Regions from separate parts of the Homo sapiens genome. Here regions 1, 2, 4 and 5 are each linked to region 3. Evidence: promoter capture Hi-C in 16 types of primary human blood cells and fetal thymus (Javierre and others, 2016). All regions are on one chromosome and are shown on one strand. Each heading gives the region's core, a stretch centred on a gene start or on the middle of the fragment in contact. The rest is flanking DNA. Distances are from core to core; before and after follow the strand shown. Region 1 holds the start of CHMP4A (charged multivesicular body protein 4A). Region 2 holds the start of DCAF11 (DDB1 and CUL4 associated factor 11). Region 3 holds the start of PIP4P1 (phosphatidylinositol-4,5-bisphosphate 4-phosphatase 1). Region 4 holds the start of ZFHX2 (zinc finger homeobox 2). Region 5 holds the start of PSME2 (proteasome activator subunit 2).

Region 1 (2,700 bases), core at 104-2,603, 3.8 Mb after region 3:
CCAGGCTGGAACGCAATGGCGTGATCTCAGCTCACCTCAACCTCCGCCTCCTGGGTTCAAGCAATTCTCCTGCCTCAGCCTCCCAAATAGCTGGGATCACAGGCATGTGCCACCATGCCTGGCTAATTTTTTGTGTTTTTAGTACAGACAGGCTTTCTCCATGTTGGTCAGGCTGGTGTCGAACTCCCAACCTCAGGTGATCTGCCCGCCTCGGCCTCCCAAAGTGTTTTGATTACAGGCATGAGCCACCGCGCCAGGACTTCTTTTTTTGAGACAGAGTCTCGCTCTGTTGCCCAGGCCAGAGTGCAGTGGCATGATCTCAGCTCATTGCAACCTCCGTCTCCCGGGTTCAAGTGATTCTCCTGCCTCAGCCTCCCTGAGTAGCTGGGACTACAGGCACACACCATCATGCCCACCTAATTTTTTTTTTTTTTTTTGAGAATGGAGTCTCCCTCTGTCACCAAGGCTGGAGTGCATTGGTGCAATCTTGGCTCACTACAACCTCCGCCTCCTGGGTTCAAGCGATTCACCTGTCTCAGCCTCCCCCAGTAGCTGGGACTACAGGCGCGTGCCACCACAACCAGCTAATTTTTTTTTTTTTTTTGTATTTTTAGTAGAGACAAGGTTTCACCATGTTGTCCAGGCTGGTCTCGAACTCTTGACCTCAGGTGATCCACCCACCTCGGCCTCCCAAAGTGCTGGGATTACAGGCGTGAGCCACCGCGCCCGGCCAATTTTTATATTTTTAGTAGAGACGGGGTTTCACCATATTGGCCAGGCTGATCTCAAACTCCTGACCTCATGATCCACCCACGTCGGCCTCCCAAAGTGTTGCGAGTACAGGCGTGAGCCCCCGCGCCGGGCTAAGAAGGCAGTCTTTCTTCTTCACCTTAGATCCCTCTTGCCCAGCACAAAGTATTATAGAACAAGGTTTTGAAAATGGCTGAAGACAGCAGGAAACTCGTCTTCAAGCCTGAACAGTGGGAGTCAGCACGATCGCCACGCCCTCAACTCAAGTCCCCTCCCAGATCTTGAGTTCTTCCCTCTGAGAGTGGGGGAGGACGGCGGACGGGAACAAGGCGCCCCGACATGGTGTGCCTTTTGGCACCGGCGATGAGCCTTGCTCCGCCATCGGCCGCCGGGGTTTTCCAGTCAGCCTGTCTCCTGATTCTCTTCCCCTGCCCGGCGCAGCGGTCCGGCCGAATCTCGCCGGGGTCTCCTCTTCCCCTGCACCAGCCAGCGCCTCCTGGCTGGCCAGTCCCACCCTGGCTCACCCTTCCCGAAGAGCCTGCCGAGACCACTCATCGCGAGCTCGCCTCTCCCGCCTCCGCCCCTCAGCGTCCTCCAGACTTCCGCCTTGCTCCTGGGAGGGTGATGTCTCATCACACAGGGACCAGCCTTGCCCAATCCGTCCTCAGGGCGCCGCCGCGACATCAAGAGGCGCAAACGAGACCACCGGTGTCACGTGACCCAAGCCACCAGCCCCAGACCGACGCGCTCCTCTTAAAGCTGCCACATCATTTTCTATTAAGTAAAAAGACAGTTCTATCTCCACCTGAGTACGTGCTTGTTCTCCGGAAGGAAATGTGCAGTGTGATGGCACCTCAGTGTATGGGGTCAGTGGGAAAACTTCATGCTCTTTACAGAGCTCAGGAAAGTGGGGTGGTATAGGTTCAAGCACTTGGGGTTGCCCTAAGTTTAGATGGCAAACCTGATGCAGTCTAATGTCTCACATTCTGGTCTCTGCACCTCAGGACAACCAACCCCATTTCACAGGCTAGAAAAATAGAAACTCCCCACACTGTGGGTAAAATCTCTTCTGTCACACACAGATGAACTTTAATAAATTACAAATGCACCTGAAAATGCCTTCTTGATTTCCTTTCAGTTTAGGCCTCAAATGGGCTCTCCTCAAGGCTGGACCTCAAAGGCCCAGTTTGGGCCTTCGCAAATGTCTCTAACCCTTGACTTAGAGTTTGAAGATTCATTCCATTCTGGATGTGAATGCAGGTAACACCTAGAAAGATAAGAAGTCACATTTCATTAAGCTTTCAGGGTTCTCCATTATTACTCTGACCTTTGTGAGTGCCACCTATAGGGCAAACTATCCAACCTGTATGTATCTACCTAATCCCTCCTAGGGACCCCAAATGGCTGTTCCTCATCACTCAGTACCCAGTTTGCTGACGTCTACAATATTCCGCCTCTCATCATCAAAGAAGATCATCTGGGAGAAAGGAATTCCAGTCTTCTGCTGCAACCTATTCAAGACAGGGCAGGAGTAACCAAGCTAGTATCTTGGTTTCCCAGGCCTCTCTGATACTTTCTCACCCTGCTCCTCCCTTATCTCCGCATACCTCTCAAAGTGTGTGATCTTGCTGCCTGGATAGATTTCCCGATGAACAAAGTACCTGAAGAGGTCAAAGAGCTCCAGTAGCTGGTTGGCCCCTTCTATCTCACTTGTCCTGCAAAACGGTGTAAAAGATGGGATTAGCAAAGTGAAGGGCCAGGGCTACGTTAACTTATTAAGCAAAGTTAGTAAGTATAACCAGGGAAATCAACTTGCTGTTTTTCCGGGATGGACAGGCATCCTCAGCCTCTGTTTAACTCCATTGCCTTCCTATTTGACACAATTGGTGCTGGGCCAATGTTTTAGCTTTTGTTTTGAGACAGGGTCTAGCTCTGTTGCCCAGACTGGAG
Region 2 (2,817 bases), core at 125-2,624, 3.7 Mb after region 3:
ATTCTGGGAGAACGCAGGTAAAATCAATCAATAAATAAAGATCCCGATTTTCCAGGCTGGATAACCCAGAAACCACGGAATCCTAAAGTCTCAATAAACGTTAAAGCACAGATAGTAAGTAATCTGGCAATAGAGGATGGGCGCCCAGCAGACCGCCTACATAATCAGTGGAGCCGAGTGCAAGATGAAAATACCAGGCACTTGCTTTAAAATTACTAATAATTTCAAGACCGTTAACACTAGAACATTAAACCAAACATTCAGGACCCTTCTAAGCGCAGAGGCCATCAAAGCTAGCCCTGGTGACAAGCTCAGGTCTCCGGATCTAGAGACTAGGAGACGTCGCCCGAAAGCTGGCCAAACCCTCGCCCTCACTGGGAGAGGCCCCAGGAGGGCCCAAGAAGGCCACGAGCCCTCGCTCCCATCCCTGCCCTCAGGAGCGGGCGGAGGGAAGCTCGCAGCTTTCCCAAGGAAGTGCAGGCTGCAGGGAATGAAGTTCAGCTCGGACCCTGAGCCTCTGAGCCCGAGACAGCAAGGTCATTCAACCCACACGTCCCCACCCAGCCAGGGCGAGGATCAGAGATGTGGCAACTCCCGGCCTTGGACTCAGGCTTGTTACTCATAAACCCGCAGGAGGGGGCAGGAGGGGGCAGGAGGCGGCGAGCGCGCACCCTGGACCCGCGGCCGGGGGCGGAGAGGCACCGCGAGGACAGAGGGACTAGCGAAGGTCTGCAAATCCCGGAGGGCCAAGGGAGCGTCAAAGGGGACAGCGGAACCGGAAAAGCTTTGACAGAAAGACGCGTGTATTAGGGAACGTCTGCAAAGACCGCGGCGGAAAGCCAGGGATTGTCTTAAAAAATTGTCAGACCGGATAAAGGGAGGTCTAAAAGGGGACCGTCCCAAGAGCAAGGCTTCCAAAAGCTAAGCCCGGAAGGACGGTATGGAGGTCTACTGGGACGCTGGGCACCCCTTAGGGCAGAACCGACTGGAGCTGCGGCCAGCGACAGAAGAACGGCTCCAGCTGGACAGGGGAAGCAGTGGGGAGAAAGGAGGCCCTTGGGCACTGTCTGAAAAGTGCGATGCCAAATGATCTTTAGGGACAGACAGTAAATTATATCCCTTGCTAAAATACCTCTCGGTAGCGAACCACCAAACGTTTCTTTTTTAAGCCCCGCCTCTCAGCCGTTACGCCTAGTTCGGCTGTCTCTGATTCAGGAAGCTGGCAGTTCCCACTTACTCCTCCCCAGCAAGAGCTAACAGCCCTCCTTGGGTGTGCACTTTCTCCTCCCCTCAGGCACCTCGCGCATTCTCCCGCCTACCTATCAATCATCGTGCTCCGCTGTCCAGTTGGCTGGCCAAGGGGGCGGGGCCGTCGTGTGACGTTTGCAGCCCGCCGGCCAGGAAGCCGCGAGATGCGTGACGAGCGAAGCGCGTGACGGAGGAGCGGTTGGCCAACGCAGTGGCGGCAGTCGGTGTAAACAAGGCCTCGCGCCGCTGCGGGTCCTGCGACCGCTCCTGGCTGGTGGGTGGTCTCGCGTGGGGCGGTTACCGCCGGCTTCAGTGGGAGGTGCTTCTCGGCTTCCTCCCCCTCATGGCGTACACACCCCCGGCGCACCACGTGGGCGTGAGGCGAGGAAGGAGGGGTGTTAGGCCAAATTCTATTTTCATTGGCTGTCACTGCTGCCGGCCTTTGTAAGGGGGCGCTCTGATTGGTCGATAAGGTGGGGGCGTCGAGGGTCTTTGAGTCCTAAGGCTTCTAATTGGTTAGATGAGATAAGCTAGTGAAGCGCTTTCTTCCGAGAGGGATTTCGATTGGTCGGTCAGAGAGGTTACCTGGAAATCCAACACCGCCCAACACCCCTCCCGCTCCCCAGTCCGGGGACTTCGATAGGTGAGTTTGGTGTAGAAAACAAATCTTTCTTCAGTTGGTGAGCTAGGGTAGCGCACTACGGTTCACTCTTGCTTTCTTTGCTTCACAGGATTGGAGAAGGTTTGTGTTCCCGACGCCTTGGTAGTTGGCATAGGCTAAAGAAAAGGGATCTCAGCCCCGAGGAAGGGTCACCCTCCTAGAGATAGCTACTACCCCGTCTCAGGAGACCCTGGTATTTCTAGAGCACGCTTTGCTTTCACCAAACCCAAGGAGGTGACAGGAGGAGCCCCCGCACAGGACCTAAGAATGCTGTGACCAGAAGATGGGATCGCGGAACAGCAGCAGTGCAGGATCCGGGTCCGGAGACCCCTCCGAGGGCTTGCCCCGAAGAGGGGCTGGCCTGCGTCGGAGTGAGGAAGAGGAAGAAGAGGATGAAGATGTGGATCTGGCCCAGGTACTGGCCTATCTCCTCCGCAGGTAACTTACCCTCTGGTGTGACCCCCAGCAGGTGCTACCACAGTGCCTTGATCCCAACTCCAGGCAGGAAAATTACAGAGGTTAGGAAATGGGATTCGCTCAGGACAGCTGTTCTGTTTGAGCTGAACAGCCTTTCCCTGCTGGGCACCCATGGCACTCAGCTCCATACCCAGTAAGAGTGGTTCTTACCTAGGGAGGGTCACCAAGAGGACCTGCTCATGTGTTTGAGGGGCTATTCAAGGGAGCCTGTCTCTGTGACTACACAAATATAGTCTATTTTCCAAGTAAGCTTGAAAAAAAAAAGGGGGGGGTCCTAGTGGGAAAGGAGTGATGTAAGGGGTGAAGAGATGGGAAGGGAGTGTTGAACTTTTTAGTAAGGCAGTTGACACATGATATGAGGCCACTTCGATTTACTTGAAAAACAAGTTTAATTTGCCCTGACTCTAACCTGTTCTTGAGGAAAGAATGCC
Region 3 (2,741 bases), core at 113-2,612:
CAAAGCCTTTTCTCCTAAATAAACACTAGGCTCTCTCACCTTTACATTCTCTGTATACGCTCATCCTTTTTTGACTTTCCAGTTCCCCACTTAGGCCCTTCCCCACCTTATGCCTCTTACCAGTAGGGCCGAGGGCATGCAATCCGTTGGGATGTCACTTTGCAGATAAGGAGACAGTTACAGGGGCATCGAACATATTTTTTCCCTGGGGGTGCATTCTTGATTGGCTAGAGAATAATAGGGTCATCAGCAAGCAAACCTCTAATCCCAATCCCCTCCACTTCCCTCCAAAAACACTTTATGAGATCAGAAAAATAAGGTGCTAACCAGGAAGGAGAAATAAAAGAAAGACTATATCATGAGATTTGCAAATAGGAACTAGGCTAGGTGTAAAAGTGAGAGAAAGTGAACATTAGCTTTGGTGAGTGGCTTCTGGGGAAATGGCTGTGTGAGACACCTGGAACTGAAACCTGGGTATCATCAAAAGCACTTGGCTAATAGCCGGAAGGTCAGGGTCTAGAACCAAGACATCAGAAAGAGGATCCAGGAAACAGGGCCCATTTCATAGATATGTGTAACTCACGGTGGCTTCATTGCAGACACCACATTTGACTACATGCTGATGCATCTTGCCTTCCACGTTGATGAGAGATTGGCAGACTCGGCAGGTGATCATAGGGGCACTCCCACTGTCCGGGCTAGTTAAGGGTGAATAGGGGGGTGGGTCCTCCCCAGGCAACACGGCTGGATGCCCCTCGGGAAACGGGGGAAATGCTGGAGAGGAAGCAAATAGAAGGGCTGGGATCACTTACACCCCCACTGATGCTCCACGGTGGTAGGGAAGTCCTTCTGATCTTCAACCCTCTGACCAAGCTCGGAGGGCTTCTCATAATTGGCACTTCTATCAGGTTGCTCAGAACCCCCTTCCGTCCCTAGGCTGTGGTCGCGATTACGGAGGGAAGGAAGCCTCGCCCAGTCACAGGTGCAGCAGTCCCGCACCTGGCGACTGGGACCCGCCTCCGCCCTCGGTCCCGCCCCCTCCCCGGCTTTCAGAGTACCCCGGGGAGCACCTCGGACCCGCCCCGGCTTACCCTGGGGCGGGGCATGTTTACCGGCTCCGTACGGTGGTGCGGAGGGGGTCAGGCCTCCCCCGGGCCCAGCCCCACTCCCGCCGGGCCCCACTAAACCGTTGCCGCCCGCGCCACCGTCGATGGGCTCAGACAGCAGCGGGGAACGCTCTCCATCTGCCGCCATGGCCGCCACCGCCGCCTCCCGCTCAGGTCGGCGATCCGGCTCCCTTCGCCTCTGCCGTCGCCGCAGCCACCGCCACCGCCGCCACCGCCACCGCCGCTACCGGGTCCCCAGGGCGCCTGCGCGCCGCGCGCCCAGCTCACTCCGCAACCAGTGGCCTGCCCCGCCCCGTTCCGTCTAGCAGCACGTGATAGGCTATCCCCGCCCGGGTCATGCTATTATTCGCGTAGATAAACCAATTCCTGGTCCTGTGAAGGCAGCTCTCCTTTTCCATTGGGGAGCGACGCACAAACGTCAACTGTCACATGACCTGCCAGATGCTGCTGGGCTTGCAAAACCTGCACGTGACTAGAGGTTCTGCAAGCTATTGGGAGCGACGCCCATCGCGCTACCTCCAGACCAGGAGGTAGGGCTAGGCTGCGTCTGCTCAACTGGTCACGTGTTTCTGGAAGCTGCACGGTCCCTGTTGCTCTGCTCCTCATTGGTTCAAAGACACCACTAAAACACTTTTCTCCGGCTTTGCGTTGTAGCTGGTTTCCTATTGGCTGGTGACTTTACTTCTTTCGTCCTGTGATCCTAGCGGCGCAACTGCATTGGCCCGAACTTAGCGCCAGAACATGGGGGGCGTGGCTTATGCATTTTAAAGGAGGCTGGGCGGGTGCAATAAAGGAGTGCGGAAGCTTGGGATCTTCTGAGCGGGGAGAAAATGGACGGTGGGGAACAGTAGACAAAGTTAGCTGTTCTACTCAAAGAAGTACCTTTAAAAAGTCAGAGTAATGAGGTACCAGAAGGAAATGGATTAAAAAGTTAAGATTATCACTCCAGCCTTTGTCGCTAGAGTCACTTTCAGGACAGGACACAAGACTGGGTTTTCCTGGAAGCTGTCCTTACAGAGCCCCGTCTTTCCCCATTGCTGATCAAATTGTTAAATTATCTTTTCATTAGTGTCTCCACTACTAGAAGATTTCATCGTTTTACTAAAAAAAAAAAAAAAAAAATTCAATAGAGATGGGGTCTTGCCTATGCTGGACTCAAACTCCTGAGTTTGATCTCCTGCCTAAGCCTTCCCAGTAGCTGGGACTACAGGGACAAGCCACCGTGCCTTTACTCAGTTTTATGACCACCAACCTTTAACATACGCACAAGTTTGTAGATTGGATTAATCAAATACAAGGTTATTTTCGTCACCTTATTTGACAGATGGGACAGTCTTTAGGCCTGTCTCAACTTTGCTTCCAGCAAAGGGGCAGTGCCTCCTCCCCTACCTGAAGTCTCGTGTGGTCTTTATGGGCGCCTGAACCACACCTGGATTTTTTCCCAAGTCATAGCCCAAACTGGGACTGCTTTAAATATGGGAAGCAACAAGGAATTGATAAAAACAATAAACCCCGAGGAGGTCCATTATCAGTTTGGCTAGCAGACTCTCCACTAAGAAAGGAAGTGCATCAAAGAAAGTACAGCCAGCCCCAAATATGTAATAACAAAGGAAC
Region 4 (2,700 bases), core at 157-2,656, 3.1 Mb after region 3:
TGAAAAGGCCAGAGATATCCAGACAGACTCTGAAGGAGAGGGCATGGAATCCTAGACCGACAGAACAGGCAGCCAAGGCGTGACACATAGTGATAGAGACACACAAGGAGAGGATCACTCAGATGGGAAGGGTCACAAGTGGAGACAGTGACATACAGATCCAGAGATGGATGGGATGGAAGAGACAAGATGAAGAACAGCAAAACCAAAAGTCAGGGACACATGGACAGAGATCAGCGGGGCTACAGGCACAGCGAGGAAGCGTGGTCCTGTGCTTGAAAATGATAGGGCTGCTCAGAGGGGCAGACGAGCGGATGGGGGTGGTAGGATGGGCGTGCAGGACAGACACGCTTCACCTTGAATGGGCTTATGGCCTCCCCTCACCTACTCAACACTTTCAAAAAAAGGAATGGAAAGCCCAACTTCAGCCAAAAACGAACGAAGACTGAGAGTATCCACGTCCCCTCCCACTCCACGCCCCAGCGCGCTAGCCCATCCATCAGCCCGCCGGCCGCGGTTCTCCCATCCCACAGCCGGCGGGGGGCCGCCGAGACCCAGGACCCTCCAGGCTGACAGCTCTGAGCCCTCACACTCACCGGGCCTCCCCTTCCCCCCGGGATCCCCGCTCCCTGCCCAACTCGGCGCGGTCCGTCTAGGCTTTCCATACCCTTCGTCTGTCCGGCGGGCCTCTGCCTTTCCCGTTCCCGTTTCTCCCTCCACCCCCGCATCTCTCTTCCCCCATCCTCGCGCACGCCCTCTTCCTCCCACACCCCTGTCTGCTATCTCCCAGGGCTCTCGGTCTGTCTGTCCGTCCGTCCTTGTCCCCTCCCCCAGCCCCTTCCCGTCCCTCTCCGTCCCCTCCAGCGGCAGTCTCCAAGCGCCTCCTCTCCCGTCTCGAGCTTCCAAAGAGCAAGGAAGGGAAGAAGAGAGAGAGGGAGAGGAGAAAAAAACCAACCCAGCAGCATCGGAAATCGATGCACTTACACCTCAGCTGGAAGCAGGGACGGGAGTCGAACCGCGGCCACCGAGCAGCGCGAGGCGGGGAGGGGAGGGGGCGGCTCTTGGAAGGGACTTCTCCGATGTGTTGATTCCTCTTTTTTCCCCTCCTCCTCCCTCCCTCCAGCGCTCGCTCCGGGGCGTCAGGGACGGAGACGGAAAAAAATAAATAAATAAATTCACGGCGGTGAGGGAAGTGAAGGAAAATAATCAATGCTATTTGGCTGCGGCTGAAGTGTTTCCCCGGCTTCGTGAGGGGGTTTCCATTGATTCACCCTGGGCACTCGCTCGCTCCCTGCCTCCTCCTCCTCCTCCTCCTTCTCCTCCTCGCCCTCCTCCTCCTCCTCCTCCTCGCCCTCACTCCTCCGCCTCATTCACTGGCTGGAGTCTAGGCGTCCCACACAATGGAATAATCAATACCCAGGCGCCCGGGGCTGCCCCACTGAGCAGGTGCAGCGACCCGCCCGCCGCGGCGCATGCCGGGAGTTGTAGTCTGTTCGCGCCCGCCCGCCTGCCTCGCGGGACCCAGGGCCGGGGGCAGGCCGGCCAGCCCACCAGGTCGCCTCCAGGTTCAAGCCGGTGCCTGCAAAGAGGGCAGGCCCCTTTAAACTCTTTTCCGTCTCCTCTCCTCTTCATCCTGTGGCCTGCAGAAACCATACATGTGTTTTGTTGTTTTGTTTTAAATCAGCTTCAGAACAAGCCCTGAGCCGCCCAAGGCCTCCTTTTTTCATTCTCTTCTTCCTGCCTTATTATTCCGCCTCCCCCATCTCCCCCCGCGAAATTGGGTACTAGAACCTTCTCTACCGCAGCAATTACTCTTTAGTCTCTGAGAGCTTCTGCCTCCTCCACACGGTTACATAGTCCCCTGAGCTGGGTTGGGGGAGGTTCGGGCTCCTCCTCATCTTCAGTTTATCGCTTATTAAGTGCTCCTGAATTTTTTTTTTTTTTTTTTTTCTGGAGACGGAGTCTCACTCAGTCGCCCAGGTTGGAGTGCAGTGGTGCGATCTCGGCTCACTGCAACCTCCACCACCGGGTTCAAGCGATTCTCCTACCTCAGCCTCCTAAGTAGCTGGGATTACAGGCATGCATCAACACACCCAGCTAATTTTTGTATTTTTAGTAGAGACGGGGTTTCACCACGTTGGTCAAGCTGGTCTCGAACTCCTGACCTTGTGATCCGCCTGCCTCGGCCTCCCAAAGTGCTGGGATTACAGGTGTGAACCACCACCGCGCCCAGCCCGTTTTTTTGTTTGTTTGTTTTTTTCTTGAGACAGAGTCACTCTGTCGCCCAGGCTGCAGTGCAGTGGCATGATCCCGGCTCACTGCAACCTTCACCTCCCAGGTTCAAGTGATTCTCCTGCCTCAGCCTCCCAAGTAGCTGGGATTGTAGGTGCCCACCACCATGCCCTGCTAATTTTGTATTTTTAGTAGAGACGGGGGTTTCACCATCTTAGCCAGGCTGGTCTCGAACTCCTGACCTCAGGTGATCCACCGGCCTCAGCCTCCCAAAGTCCTGGGATTATAGGGGTGATCCACCTCACCCGGCCGCTCCTGTATTCTAATAATAATTTTTAAGATTTCTTGAATGCACAGGGACAGTTCCAAGCACTTTTACATACATTGTTTACTCCTCTCAATACCTCAAGCATGAGGTAGATGCTATTATAGTCTCATTTATTGAGGAAACTAAGGCACAAACAAGTG
Region 5 (2,896 bases), core at 394-2,893, 3.7 Mb after region 3:
GTCTCTGTATGAAGGACTTGTATCTACGGAGGAGTCCAGGGCCTCACCTTGTGTGTCTTCTCTTTCTGCTTCCCCCATTTCCCAGGCTTACCAGAATGCATTTCTCTTTGAGAGTCCAGACTTCTGGCTTAACCAGGGCAAGCAGGGACAGGACTTTCTCATTCCCAGGGAGAAATCCACACTTATGGACTGTGAGAAAGAGGGGATTCAGGCCCTTTCTCATCCAGTAGTCAGTGTGCCATCACCCCTTCCCTAGTCACCTCTTATCTCTCTTACCTTCTTTCTTCTCCTGCTTATCTGTTTCCATCTAAGGCAAAAAGGGGGGAAAGTAGCTTTAGAAAAGTCACAGAGGTTGAAGGGCTATCTTCTCCATTGGGTTTATAGTCCAAGTCCTGCACCCTGAGTGCCTCACCTCATCATCCTTGGGTGGAGGGTCTGGGATGGGGATGTCCAGTGGGGCCCGGAGGGAAGTCAAGTCAGCCACATTGAGGGAGTCCTCCTGCACAGAGCTCACTGTCAAGGGCTGCCCAACCTCTTCCCTTCATCCTAGGTCACAGCCTTCCCTCCATACATCCCACTTGCACTCTGCCTCCCAACCTAGGCTCATGCCTCACGCCATCCTAATGTTCCTAATCCACTATTTGAAACTATTCTCTGCATGCTGAATCCAGTTGTTAGCTAGAGAGGGTGGGCAAAGGGGATAGAGGACATAGGATGGGGCAGAAGGGGCCCACACTACTCACTTGCAAGAGCTGATTCAGGTATATGATTTTCTGTGGCAAGAATCTGTAGAGGAATTCCTCAGCCTGTGGGTTACATTGCAAGGGAGGGGAATCACAGAATATGCTCAATGAGATGTCTGACAAATGGAACTGGAAGGGCCTTTGGAAATCACTGGGTCCAAGACTTGCAAATGAGGAAACTGAAGACCTGAAAATGAAAGGACTTGCCCAAGCTGGTAAATGGCAGAACGAAGGTTAGGACTGTGATATTCCTGCTTTGGAAGCCATGGTTTTTTTCCTCCACATCAAAAGACGGGAGAAGTGCCAGAAGTCGGGAGAGTCATAAGAAAGGTCAGATTAAAGGTAGCTATCAATAATTCCGGGGTTACTTTGGGTGAAGGCTTGGTAAGGGAAGTAGGGTTAAGTCTAGGGTGACTTGGGGGGGTCATTCTGAGAGGCTGTTATCCTCAAGTATTGGTCCAAGATTCTGGGTCAAATCGCTCAAATCCAGAGACTTACCTCCTGGAAAAGATTCTGTCTGAAGACCTCCACCTACACAGAGAGCAGTACCCGGATGTTGGTTAAGGGTCTGGGTTGTCAAAAGCTTCCACCCACAACAGGGTGCCCTCGAACTGTGGCTCAGGCCTTTCTCACCACAAACTAGCTTTCCCTGGAAGCTCCTGCTCACTGCAGTCAGAAGGCAGGAATCTGGGAATCCCCGAGAAGTGAAGGCACTAGCGAGATTGGGGGAGTTCTCTGGCACTGCTTGGTCCCCTGAACCACCCAGCTTGGCCTCCACCCAAGAGGGTTCTATGACCCCTTCCTGGCCTCCGATTCCCCATTACCTGTTTGCGGGCTTCCCCGCTCAGGCGCACCCCACACGGCTTGGCCATGCTGCTTCAGTCGCTAGATCTCTGGTCTCCCGGCTAGTCGCCCGGGCTTTCGCTTTCACTCCCCAGGTCCAGGCCCGCCCCCCTCAACCCCGCCCCCTTTCTTCTTTCCGCCCCCCTCCTCCCGCTGGCAGGCCGCAAGCAGTAGGTAGCCCCTCAGCCATTCCCAGCCAGTTGCCACTAGGAGAGGCGGTGCTGGCTGGGTCACAGTCCAGGGGCTGCCCGAGGGAGGGGCTAGGGTAAGTGGGACCGCGGAGACTGGAGCGGGGGCTGTCCCTCGGAGAGGGGCGGGGCTTATAGCTAGGGCCAACTGGAAGTCCAGGGTTGGGGTAAGAGAGGTGGGAGTATGGCAAAGGGGGTATTCAGTGGCGGGGCTCCCCCAAGAAGGCTCGACCGCAAGTAGCGGACGGAGAGAGATCAGAGCGAGTGGGAGGGGCAGCCAGAGGGAGCGCCTGGGGTGGAGAAGGACTAGCAGCTCTTAGAAGAGAGCGGGCAGGGGTTGGGTGAGGGTCTTCCCTCTGCCTTCAGGACAGACCGGAGATGGGGCGGGACTCGCTCGAGAGGGGTTAGGGCCGGCCAGAGTCGGTTCCCCTGCAGGGTGGGACTTCCTCGGTGAGGCCCGGAGCGTACCGGACTGGTCCAGCTAGAAAAAGAAAGGTTTTGAGCTGAATAGGATAACCCCGCGCCTGCGGCTATCCGGAAGGGGTGGAACCAGATTGGGGGAAGGCGGGGAAGAGCGCTTGACTGAGGGAAGATGCTGGCGCGCTCTGAGGGAGGAGCCAGGAGCCATTTGCCTTCTCATTGGTTGGGACCTGGCCCTCCCTCTTGGCCGCGCCCCCTGGTTTCCTGACACCGCTCCAACCTTAACCTTAAGCCCCGCCCGTTCCTCCGAAATTGGGTCGCAGTCCCACCCTCTCTCCTAGTACTTCCTGTTCTCGGCTAACCCTGGCGCTGGGCCGGGGGCTGGAGAGTGACCGTGGTCTGAGTGACCTGGGGCGGCTGCGTGGGCCGGGGTGGGCCTCAAAGCCGGGCACCAGACGGGAGGGGCGGCGCTCGGGCCGCGCGCTGCCCGCGCCGGGTCCTGGCGGGCGGCGAGGCTGGGGCTGACTCCTGCCTCAGGATGCCGGGGGAGGAAGAGGAGCGGGCCTTCCTGGTGGCCCGCGAGGAGCTGGCGAGCGCCCTGAGGAGGGATTCCGGGCAGGCGTTTTCCCTGGAGCAGCTCCGGCCGCTACTAGCCAGCTCTCTGCCGCTAGCCGCCCGCTACCTGCAGCTGGACGCCGCACG

Evidence for each region. Contacts are between HindIII fragments. The CHiCAGO score rates a contact against its expected background, and 5 or more counts as called.
Region 1: the fragment with the promoter of CHMP4A here is called in contact with the fragment with the promoter of PIP4P1 in region 3 in 5 of 17 cell types (fetal thymus, non-activated CD4 T cells, total CD4 T cells and 2 more); the score reaches 8.7 in fetal thymus.
Region 2: the fragment with the promoter of DCAF11 here is called in contact with the fragment with the promoter of PIP4P1 in region 3 in 6 of 17 cell types (naive CD8 T cells, non-activated CD4 T cells, activated CD4 T cells and 3 more); the score reaches 13.2 in naive CD8 T cells.
Region 4: the fragment with the promoter of ZFHX2 here is called in contact with the fragment with the promoter of PIP4P1 in region 3 in 1 of 17 cell types (non-activated CD4 T cells); the score reaches 5.4 in non-activated CD4 T cells.
Region 5: the fragment with the promoter of PSME2 here is called in contact with the fragment with the promoter of PIP4P1 in region 3 in 1 of 17 cell types (naive CD8 T cells); the score reaches 6.2 in naive CD8 T cells.

Annotation. Positions count from the first base shown.
Region 1 is chr14:24,212,135-24,214,834 of GRCh38, forward strand. CHMP4A (charged multivesicular body protein 4A) reads right to left here and starts at 1,354. Exons shown (of 6, transcript NM_014169.5): 1 at 1,275-1,354. The coding sequence starts at 1,305. NEDD8-MDP1 (NEDD8-MDP1 readthrough) reads right to left here. Exons shown (of 7, transcript NM_001199823.3): 5 at 2,358-2,465; 6 at 2,176-2,261; 7 at 1,809-2,017. The coding sequence ends at 1,890. It overlaps MDP1 (magnesium dependent phosphatase 1), which reads right to left. Exons shown (of 6, transcript NM_138476.4): 4 at 2,358-2,465; 5 at 2,176-2,261; 6 at 1,809-2,017. The coding sequence ends at 1,890. RefSeq lists enhancers at 763-882, 837-1,645, 1,073-1,572, 1,209-1,503, 2,658-2,700. The HindIII fragment of the contact is 5,751 bases long and covers 1-2,046 here.
Region 2 is chr14:24,113,403-24,116,219 of GRCh38, forward strand. DCAF11 (DDB1 and CUL4 associated factor 11) reads left to right here and starts at 1,375. Exons shown (of 15, transcript NM_025230.5): 1 at 1,375-1,891; 2 at 1,980-2,347. The coding sequence starts at 2,193. NRL (neural retina leucine zipper) reads right to left here and starts at 1,547. Exons shown (of 3, transcript NM_001354768.3): 1 at 1,320-1,547. RefSeq lists enhancers at 628-1,343, 925-1,064, 1,305-1,454. The HindIII fragment of the contact is 1,852 bases long and covers 783-2,634 here.
Region 3 is chr14:20,460,072-20,462,812 of GRCh38, forward strand. PIP4P1 (phosphatidylinositol-4,5-bisphosphate 4-phosphatase 1) reads right to left here and starts at 1,363. Exons shown (of 7, transcript NM_144568.4): 1 at 1,113-1,363; 2 at 584-774; 3 at 121-227. The coding sequence starts at 1,254. RefSeq lists enhancers at 683-1,649, 1,578-1,647, 1,650-2,615, 1,948-2,027 and silencers at 818-987, 1,048-1,457. The HindIII fragment of the contact is 6,669 bases long and covers 1-1,929 here.
Region 4 is chr14:23,550,359-23,553,058 of GRCh38, forward strand. ZFHX2 (zinc finger homeobox 2) reads right to left here and starts at 1,407. Exons shown (of 10, transcript NM_033400.3): 1 at 985-1,407. It also overlaps a transcript of THTPA not described here. RefSeq lists enhancers at 199-861, 1,711-1,760 and a silencer at 1,341-1,580. The HindIII fragment of the contact is 16,619 bases long and covers 1-2,700 here.
Region 5 is chr14:24,144,967-24,147,862 of GRCh38, forward strand. PSME2 (proteasome activator subunit 2) reads right to left here and starts at 1,644. Exons shown (of 11, transcript NM_002818.3): 1 at 1,568-1,644; 2 at 1,242-1,274; 3 at 744-806; 4 at 413-499; 5 at 277-307; 6 at 92-189. The coding sequence starts at 1,615. It overlaps RNF31 (ring finger protein 31), which reads left to right and starts at 2,532. Exons shown (of 21, transcript NM_017999.5): 1 at 2,532-2,896. The coding sequence starts at 2,733. RefSeq lists silencers at 1,690-1,749, 2,450-2,539, 2,570-2,799 and enhancers at 2,060-2,129, 2,267-2,767, 2,314-2,608. The HindIII fragment of the contact is 5,988 bases long and covers 1,325-2,896 here.